Linked DNA regions of Homo sapiens: regions 1 and 3 are each linked to region 2. Evidence: promoter capture Hi-C in 16 types of primary human blood cells and fetal thymus (Javierre and others, 2016). All regions are on one chromosome and are shown on one strand. Each heading gives the region's core, a stretch centred on a gene start or on the middle of the fragment in contact. The rest is flanking DNA. Distances are from core to core; before and after follow the strand shown.

The links. The method cuts DNA at HindIII sites, captures the fragments that hold promoters and counts their contacts. A CHiCAGO score of 5 or more calls a contact.
Region 1: a contact is called between the fragment with the promoter of EID2B here and the fragment with the promoter of LGALS16 in region 2, in 7 of 17 cell types (non-activated CD4 T cells, activated CD4 T cells, naive CD4 T cells and 4 more). The highest score is 9.1, in non-activated CD4 T cells.
Region 3: the fragment with the promoter of CLC here is called in contact with the fragment with the promoter of LGALS16 in region 2 in 1 of 17 cell types (fetal thymus); the score reaches 5.7 in fetal thymus.

The regions. Positions count from the first base shown.
Region 1 is chr19:39,530,972-39,534,132 of GRCh38, forward strand. EID2B (EP300 interacting inhibitor of differentiation 2B) reads right to left here and starts at 1,881. Exons shown (of 1, transcript NM_152361.3): 1 at 16-1,881. The coding sequence starts at 1,831. The coding sequence ends at 1,346. The HindIII fragment of the contact is 7,702 bases long and covers 559-3,161 here.
Region 2 is chr19:39,654,391-39,657,436 of GRCh38, forward strand. LGALS16 (galectin 16) reads left to right here and starts at 1,523. Exons shown (of 4, transcript NM_001190441.3): 1 at 1,523-1,586. The coding sequence starts at 1,572. The HindIII fragment of the contact is 3,782 bases long and covers 1,437-3,046 here.
Region 3 is chr19:39,736,763-39,739,624 of GRCh38, forward strand. It overlaps CLC (Charcot-Leyden crystal galectin), which reads right to left and starts at 1,267. Exons shown (of 4, transcript NM_001828.6): 1 at 1,176-1,267. The coding sequence starts at 1,190. The HindIII fragment of the contact is 8,050 bases long and covers 1-2,862 here.

The DNA.
Region 1 (3,161 bases), core at 631-3,130, 120 kb before region 2:
GGAAAATGCACAATATTTAGATTGATGTTTATTTGCATATGCATTAGAAAACCTGAAAGGCGTACAGTGAAAAAGCAAAAAACAAGCAAAACCAAGAAAACAACAACAAAACTCCAAGCCACAAGCAATGGCACCTGCATGGAATAGTTCTGAGTTTGGCAAAGGACAGCAACAAGAGAGATTTCTCACAGCATCTTTTGATACTTTTTTTCTTTTTTTTGAGACGGAGTCCCACTCTGTTGACCAGGCTGGAGTGCAGTGGCGTGATCTCGGCTTACTGCAACCTCCGCCTCCCAGGTTCAAGTGATTCTCCTGCCTCAGCCTCCCGAGTAGCTGGGACTACAAGCGCGTGCCACCACACCCAGTTAATTTTTTATTTTTCGTAGAGATGGGGTTTCACCATGTTGGCCAGGGTGGTCTTGAATTCCTGACCTCAGGTGATCCACCCGCCGTGGCCTCCCAAAGTGCTGGGATTACAGGCGTAAGCCAGTGCGCCCGGCCGATACTTTTTTTTGTTGAGTCTTGTGAATAGAATACATATTCTAGAATAAAATAAAAAGCTTAAAATTAACAAAAAACAAGTTTATTCCACACCTACCCAATTTCACATAGACTTGAAAACACTGATCATATAATACGTGGTTTTTTCTATTGAATATTTACTGTTCATCTAAAGTACCTCAGAAAACACAAATATGAATCTTACACTAGGATTTGTTGACATGACCACAAATTGTGAAATTTCAAAGTCCTCTCAATAGCCTTCCAATCCTAGTAACTCAGGTACACCTGGATTCCTGACAACTCTATTTCTTTGTTTTCTTTCATCACTTAGGTTCATTTCTATGGGTTCTGTTATTGGCATTTTTTTTTTCTCATATCTTTGCAAAACCATCCTTTATGGTGAAAGTCATGAAGGATTCTTCACAAATGCAGGAAAATGCATTGCTAACAAAGTGCTAAGTCAGAAGTGTCTTGGGACCTGTTTGAAAACAAGATTCGGCCGGGCGCGGTGGCTCACGCCTGTAAAGTAATCCCAGCACTTTGGGAGGCCGAAGCGGGAGGATCGCTCGGGTCCAAGCGTTCGGGACCAGCCTAGGGATGCGAGACTCCCTTCTCTATTTAAATAATACTAAAAAAGAAGAAAGAAAACAAGATTCAACAGTCTTGTCTGTTTCCATTTCGGAGTGTGCTTCCTCCTTCAATTGCACATTGCCGTATTCCCTTCCAGTTTGCATTCCCCCTAATGACTGAGTTAACTAAACTGGCACAGCCTGCCTGTTCTTTTGATCCCAAAAGGGTCACTTGGCTATTCCTTGCCACCAATGTCATCATCACAGCCGACTCAGTCGGCCAGAGGACTGAGGGCCTCGGAGGCAGTCAGCGCTACCGTAAACGCGACAGCAGCGAAGTCCATCTGCGGGGGATCCGCGTCAAAGGCTGCTTCCCTCGCCTTGCAGCCTTCCACAAACAGCCTGCGGCGTTCCTCGAAATCCCGTAGTAATCTGACCGGAATCATGGAGCTACCATCCAGATACTCGCGGAACAACAGCTGCCGGTTAATTTCTAAGAAAGCGAGCTGCTGATGGGGGTCTGGCGCGGAGGCCAGGCCCGGGACGCTGCTGGGGATGGGCCCGGGCACAGGGCCCGGCATCCGCGCCATGGACCGCGCAGCTTCGGCCACTGGGCCTTCCCGAGCCTCCTGCACCCGAACCCCGCCGCCGACTGCCCCCCGCAGTACGTCGCTGACGCCACTCGCGGTGCCCACCTGTGGGACACTGCTATCTCCGGGGAGCTCGGACATCTCCAACAGCCCAGTCGGCTCCGCCATAGTCCCAGCGTTTCTACGGAGACTGGAATAACGGCACTGCACTGCTGTATGCGAGACCTGCGCATGCGCGAGTCTCAGTGAGCGCGTAAACGCTGTGCGTGCCAGAGTGTGCGCATGCGTAAGCACGGTGGCCAATCCTCTAGCGTTCCCTAGCGGTCCTGAGTAGCCATTACGTCTGTAGCCGCCTCTGGTCCTCTGAGCGCCTGAGGACCTGCGGACTGCGCGGTATCTTAAATTACAACCACTTCAGTATTAATGTAAAGTTCCTTATACGGTCATTTTCCAGCTCCTGTCTTTTTTTTTTTTTTTTCAGACTGGGTCTCGCCCTGTCGCCTAGGCTGGAGTGCAGTGGTGCGATCTCGGTTACTGCTGCTTTGACCTCCCAGCCTCAAGCCATCCTCCTGCCTCAGCCTCTGGAGTAACTGGAACTACAGGTGCACACAACCACACCCAGCTGATTTTTTATTTTTTGTAGAAATTGGGTCTCACTATGTTGCCCAGGCTGGTCTCGAACTCCTGGACTCAAGTGATCATCCTGCCTTGGCCTCCCAAAGTGCTGGGATTACCGGCCTGAGCCACTCGGCCTGGCCTGTAAGTAATATTTTGACACTGGAAGTTTGGGGGTTTCCCAAAACCACCTTTAGGTTTGATAATTCCCAGAGCTCATTGAAATCTGTTATATTCACAGTCATGCTTATTACAGGCAAAGGACACAGATTAGAAGAGATGTATAAGGCACAATCTGGGATGGGGAGGGTTCCAAATGTGAAGTTCCTGTGTTCCTAGGGATGTGTTACCCTTTGTCGTCCATGTGTGGCAATAAGTGTGGGGGTAGTGCTAACATAGGACTCTCACCCAGGCTTTGGTGTCCAGAGTTTTTACTGGGGTTTTACTACCTAGGCATGCTTGATTAAACCATCGTCCATTTTGTTGAAGTCAATCTCCAGCCTCCTACCTGATATCACATGGCTCCAAGCCCCAACTCTCTAATGATATGGTTAGCCTTTCTGTGTGGCTAGCTCTGATCCTGATGATAACCCAAAACGTGAAAGTCTATGTTCCATTTAAAATCAGTCAGCTGTGGCTGGGTGTAGTGGCTCATGCCTGTAATCCCAGCAAGTTGGGAGGCAAAGGTGGGAGGATCGCTTGAGCCCATGAGTTTGAGACCAGCCTGGGCAACATAGTGAGACCCCTGTCCCTACAGAAAAAAAAAATTAGGCAGGCATGGTGGCATGTGCACCTGTAGTCTCAGCTATTCAGGAGGCTGAGGTGGGAGGATGACTTGAGCTTGGTAGGTGGACTGTGCAGTGAGCTATGATTGCACCACTGC
Region 2 (3,046 bases), core at 273-2,772:
ATTTACAAGAAAAAAACAAACAACCCCATCAAAAAGTGGGCAAAGGATATGAACAGACACTTCTCAAAAGAAGACATTTATGCAGCCAACAAACACAGGAAAAAATGCTTATCATCACTGGTCATTAGAGAAATGCAAATCAAAACTACATTGAGATACCATCTCACACCAGTTAGAATGGCGATCATTAAAAAGTCAGGAAACAACAGATGCTGGGGAGGATATGGAGAAATAGGAACGCTTTTACACTGTTGGTGGGAGTGTAAACGAGCTCAACCATTATGGAAGACAGTGTGGCCATTCCTCCAGGATCTAGAACTAGAAATATCATTTGACCCAGCATCCCATTACTGGGTATATACCCAAAGGATTATAAATCATGCTACTATAAAGACACATGCACACGTATGTTTATTGCAGCACTGTTCACAATAGCAAAGACTTGGAACCAAACCAAATCCTTCAATGATAGACTGAATTAAGAAAATGTGGCACATATACACCATGGAATTCTATGCAGCCATAAAAAAGGATGAGTTCATGTCCTTTGCAGGGAGATGGATGAAGCTGGAAACCATCATTCTGAACAAACTATCACTAGCACAGAAAACCAAATACCGCATGTTCTCACTCATAGGTGGGAATTGTACAATGAGAGCACTTGGACACATGGCAGGGAACATCACACATGGGGGACTATCATGGGGTGGGGGGCAGGGGGATGGATAGCATCAGGATAAATAATGTAAATGACGAGTTAATGGGTGCAGCAAACAAACATGGCACATGTATACCTGTGTAACAAACCTGCACATTGTGCACATGTACCCTGGAACTTAAAGTATAATAATAATTTTTTTTAAATCTCACCTTTCTCCCAGAATCTGCAGAAGAAACAGTCTCCCTCAAACTTTGATTTACATGGACACCAACAGAGGGTGTAGCTAGAGCCCAAGTGTGTGACAGTCAGATGAAAGTGGCCCTTACCTAGCAAAGCCAAGTGGCTTAGTGTGGGGCAGGTTCATGCAAGAAATTTCTCTACTTCTCTCTGCAGATCCTCCTCAGGATCAAGGTCAGTGCTCTCCCAGAACATTTAAAGGCAGAGAGAAGAATTACCTTTTAGGGCTAACTTGTTTCCCCCAAAATCTCCAACTTTTTTTTTCTTGTTTAGCCATTGTACAAAATTGGGAAAATGTACACCTTCTGGGTAGATTCTGCATAGTGGAGAAAAGGCTTGAGAGGCACAAAGGCTGGGCTTTACAATCACTACCCCTCACTCCATCATCCTTATCTATGCATTTCCCTGGTAACCCAATCCACAGTCTGGTACCTTCCCCAATGTCATTTCTGCTGCATTACAGACACAGACTTGCAAATAGTTATGGTTGTGACTGAGTTTCTTCGTGACACCTGACCCTTTCTCATGCTGCAAGGAAAGCTTGCTGGGAGGAGCATGGAATCTGGAATGATGCCAGAGGGCAAAGCTGAAAGGGGTCATTTAAGTGCTGCAACTCAGAGATTCACTCAGAAGACTGGACACAATTCCGAAGGTCGCCCAGAAGGAGAGGACAATGTCATTTCTAACTGTGAGTTGAAAAGGCACAGCCTTCAATAATCTCAAGTCACACAAAACCAAGAAAGATGTGGGGTATTTTATGAGATGAAAATATGAGCATTCCTACTGTGAATGCTTTACTGAGAGTTGTGGGTGTGTGGAAGAGAAACACTGAGGCTGGGTATCTGAGATGCTTGTAGCATGTGGGTTGTGGATCCTGGACAAATGTAACCCTCTGTGAGCATGAGGTGGTATCTGATGAGAGTGAACTCTGATGAGATGATGTGACTTTAGGTGGGAGGTGGATGGCACACCAGGTCAAGCAGGTGTTTGTGTGAGTGTAAGGGGGGTGATTGTACTTTGTCTTCCTCTTTGTGATGTGAGTGTGTGTTAGCACAGCCAGACCAGTGCATGGTCATCTTTATGTGCGCAGTGAGCAGGTGTGTGTAACTCAGTGAGTGGCATGGCTCTGTGTGACTGTGGGTGTGTGTGCTGGGATGTGACTGAGTATTGAAGGGAAAACACGCATGTGGCCTTCTGTGCATGTGAAGGTTCCTCCCCACACAACAGCACTTCTGATGAAGGAACTGTGTGTCTTTTCATGTGTGGCAATGTGGATCCCAGGTGGCTTAACTGGTAGGGATCTTGGAGATTGTGAGTTACCAAGGACTTGTTTCAGATCACTTATGAGAGCAGAATGTATGATCAGTAGATGTCTCTTCCCAGTAAGAGTGGGGAAGAGGAATGGAGACTATGGGGGTGATGGATCCTCAGGTGGGGTCTGCACAGAGTGACCACTGTCTCTTGCCTCCCAGGCTCAGCTTCCCTGTCCCCAGCCTATCCTGTCCTTTTCATTGTGGGACAGGAGGTTTGCTAGAGAAGGATATTAGAGGCCATGGTTTCAGAGACTGAATCACGTAAAATATCCACTGTAAGCTATGTCTCAACTGAGTCTAAACTTGTTCCTCCACCCATGAAGGAACAAGTCTAGTCTCAGTTCAGACAGAGCTTACAGTGGATATTAATCAACAAAGCAGCTGGGTTCACTGGCTCACGGCTATAATCCCACCAATCTGAGAGACAAAGATGAGAGGATAACTTGAGGCCAGAAGTTTGAGGCCAGTCTGGGTATCATAGTGAGACCCTTTCTTTAAAAAACTTTAAATATCAGACTGCCAGAGTGGCAGGCACCTTTTGCCCCAGCTACACAAGAGGGGGCAGATGTGTGAGGATCACTGCAGCCCAGGAGTTCAACGTTTCAATGAGCTATGATCGCACCACTGCATGTCAGCCTGGGCAACAGAGCAAGACCCTATCTCAAAAATACAGAAAAATCATCAACCACTTGTAGTCATTGTAGAAATCAATCATTCCCTCCAGTTATGTCCCTGACCCACAGGCTTCACTTGTGCAAGTACTGGGGCTGTGCTGTCAGTAATGTGTGCCACTTCTTGGAAGGACGTCCATTGCCCTTGATGATTGTGAGAGTTG
Region 3 (2,862 bases), core at 17-2,516, 82 kb after region 2:
AGACTCTGTCTCAAAAAAAAAAAAAAAAAATTACTGCAGGTTTGAAGGCCTGGGCTTCAGTGAACCTCTTGCATATGCCCCCCAGCAGCTGGAACTACGGTATGCAACACCACATTCAATAAATTTTTAAATTTTTGGAAAGATGAAATCTTGCTATGTCTCCCAGGCTGGTCTACCAGTCCTGGCCTGACATGGGCCTTTCAATTCGGCCACCCAAAGTGCTGAGACTACAGGCCTCAGCAAACATCTTGATGAATATCCACTGTAAGCTCTGCCTTGTACCTTCCTGGTTTTGGGTGATTCAGTCTCTTAAATCAAGTCCCTCAATGTCCTTCTCTAGCATCCTGGCACTCAATGGGAAGGCCAGGCTAGGGTAGGAGACAGGGAGAGACCTGAGGCTGGAGGCAGGAGCCAGTGGTCACTGTGTGCAGATTCCACCTAAGGAACCATCAGCCCCATCGTCTGTTTCTCACCCCCATTCTGCTTGGGAAAAGGCACCTGAGAATTCATGCATTCTGCTCTCATAAATGCTCAGAGATAAGTCCTCGGTAACTCAAGGGCCCCAAGATCCCACAAGTTCTGTCACCGGGGATCCACAGTGATGCACAAGGGAAGTTAGACAGAGTACTGCTATGTGGGGAGGAACCTTCACATGCACAGAAGGCCACATGCATGTTCCCAGTTCAACACCCAGTCACATTCCAGCACACACACTCACAGTCACACAGAGCCGTGCCACTCACTGAGTCACACACACCTGCTCACTGTGCATATAAAGATGCTCATGCACTGGTCCGGCTGTGCTCACACACACACTCACATCACAGTCATGAAGACAAAACACAGTCACCTGATTACAATCACTTACACACCCACCCATATCCTGGAGGGCCATACACATCCCGTCTAAAGTCACATCATTTTTAGCAGAGTTTACTCTCATCAGATACCATCACATGCTCACAGAGGGTCACAATGTTCCAGCATCCACACCCCCTACCCCCCTACCCCAGGAGCATCTCAGATACCATAGCCCTAGGGTCTCTCTTCCACACACCCACAACTCTCAGTAAAGCATTCACAGTAGAAATTTTCATATTTTCATCCCATAAAATCTCCCTCTTCCCTTTTCTGTGTGACCTGAGATTATTGAAGGCTGTGCCTTTTTAACTCACGGGTAGCAGGGACATTGTTGTCTCCTTCTGGGTGGCTCTTCTGAATTGTGTCCAGACTTCTGTGTGAATCTCTGAGCTGCAGAATTTAAATGGCCCCTATCAGCCCTGCCTCTGGCTTTATTCCTGATTCCAAGCCCCTCCCAGGAAGGTTTCCTCACACAGTGAGAAGGGGTGGGGTGTCAGAAACAGACTCAGTCACAACCACACCTGTTTGGAGGCCTGTGCCTGTGATGCAGCAGAAACGACAGTGAGGGAGGTACTGGAGGAGGAAGGGGTCACCAGGGAAATGCACAGATAAAGACGATGGAGTGAGGATGAGTGGTGTGAGTTCCAGCCTCCATGCTTCTCATGAAGCCTTTTCTCCACTGTGCAGAATCTACCAGGAAGGTGTGCGTTCTCCTAACCTGTGCAATGGTAAAAAGCTGGAGATCCTGGGGGCAAGGCACTTGGCTTTGAAAGAAAATCCTCCTCCTCCTTCTCCAGTGGTTCTGGGAGAGCATAGATCTTGATCATTCGCAGGACCTGGGGACAGAAGTAGAGAAAACACTTGTGTCTTCTTTACCCACCCTCAGATCCCTTGGCTCTGCCAGGTGAGAGCCACTCCCACTCTGTCTCTCAGACACCTGGGCTTTAGGTACGCCCTCTTATTTCCCTATTTCTTTTCATGTGAATCAAAATCTGAGGCTGTCGTTCTCCTGCAGATTCTTGGAGAAAGGTGAGATTTCTCACTCATAAGTGGGAGCTAAGCGATGAGGATGCATTAGCATTAATATTAGTTGTGCTTGACCCGACAATAAATTCCACTTTCCCTGATCTAAAACCTTGACAATTCATTTCCAAGCATGCACTCCAAGATTCTGCTCATATAAATCAGCACAATCACACAGTTCTTTTGGTATATAACGTATTTCCTTAAGATTAATTTGTAATGTCATCCCACTGCATTCCTTGGGTTTTGACTCTGGGTATGGACATGGAAGCAATGAAAAGGGTCAGAGGCCACAATTAAGGAGCTTTGGAAACCCCGTTCTAGGCAACCACCCTCACACCCTGCCCAGAACTGTAGCTTGTAAGAAATTACCACAGAAGGGAAAGAGGAACTGCTTTTCCTTGCAACAGATATGCAATAGAATTTTGAGTAATATCCCAGCTATTCATCTGAACTGGGGAAGAAATATCAGTTCAGGGCGTCTGGCCACCTAGTAAGCTGTGGATAAAGATGTTGATGTTATTTACTTCTCAGGCATTCCAGCAATCCTTTCAGTGATGCAGAGAGATTGATCTTCTTTAACTTCCATATCCTCTGCACAATAGCCCATACTTCTGCTGGTTGCAACTATTTCTTCAGAAATCCATTATGCCCTACGACTTGCTTTCAGTCTTTCTTTTCAACTACATCTTTCCAAGCACACACTGTTCCCCCGAAAAACTTTAGGTTTTGTGTATGAAATTATATAATATCTGGGATTTGCTCTAAAATAATCTGGGGATGACAGTTCTCTCCTTTTGCAAACATTTGAAATTTTTTACAGTACAGTTTTTAATTAAGTAGCCAGTACATAGACTATATATAAAAGAAAAACAAAATTATCAGTACTGGCATGGCTATATCTTCAAGAAATGCTGTAGTATGAAAAGGCATGAAGAAAACATGCATAATACGAGACCAATTATTTTAACGACAAAA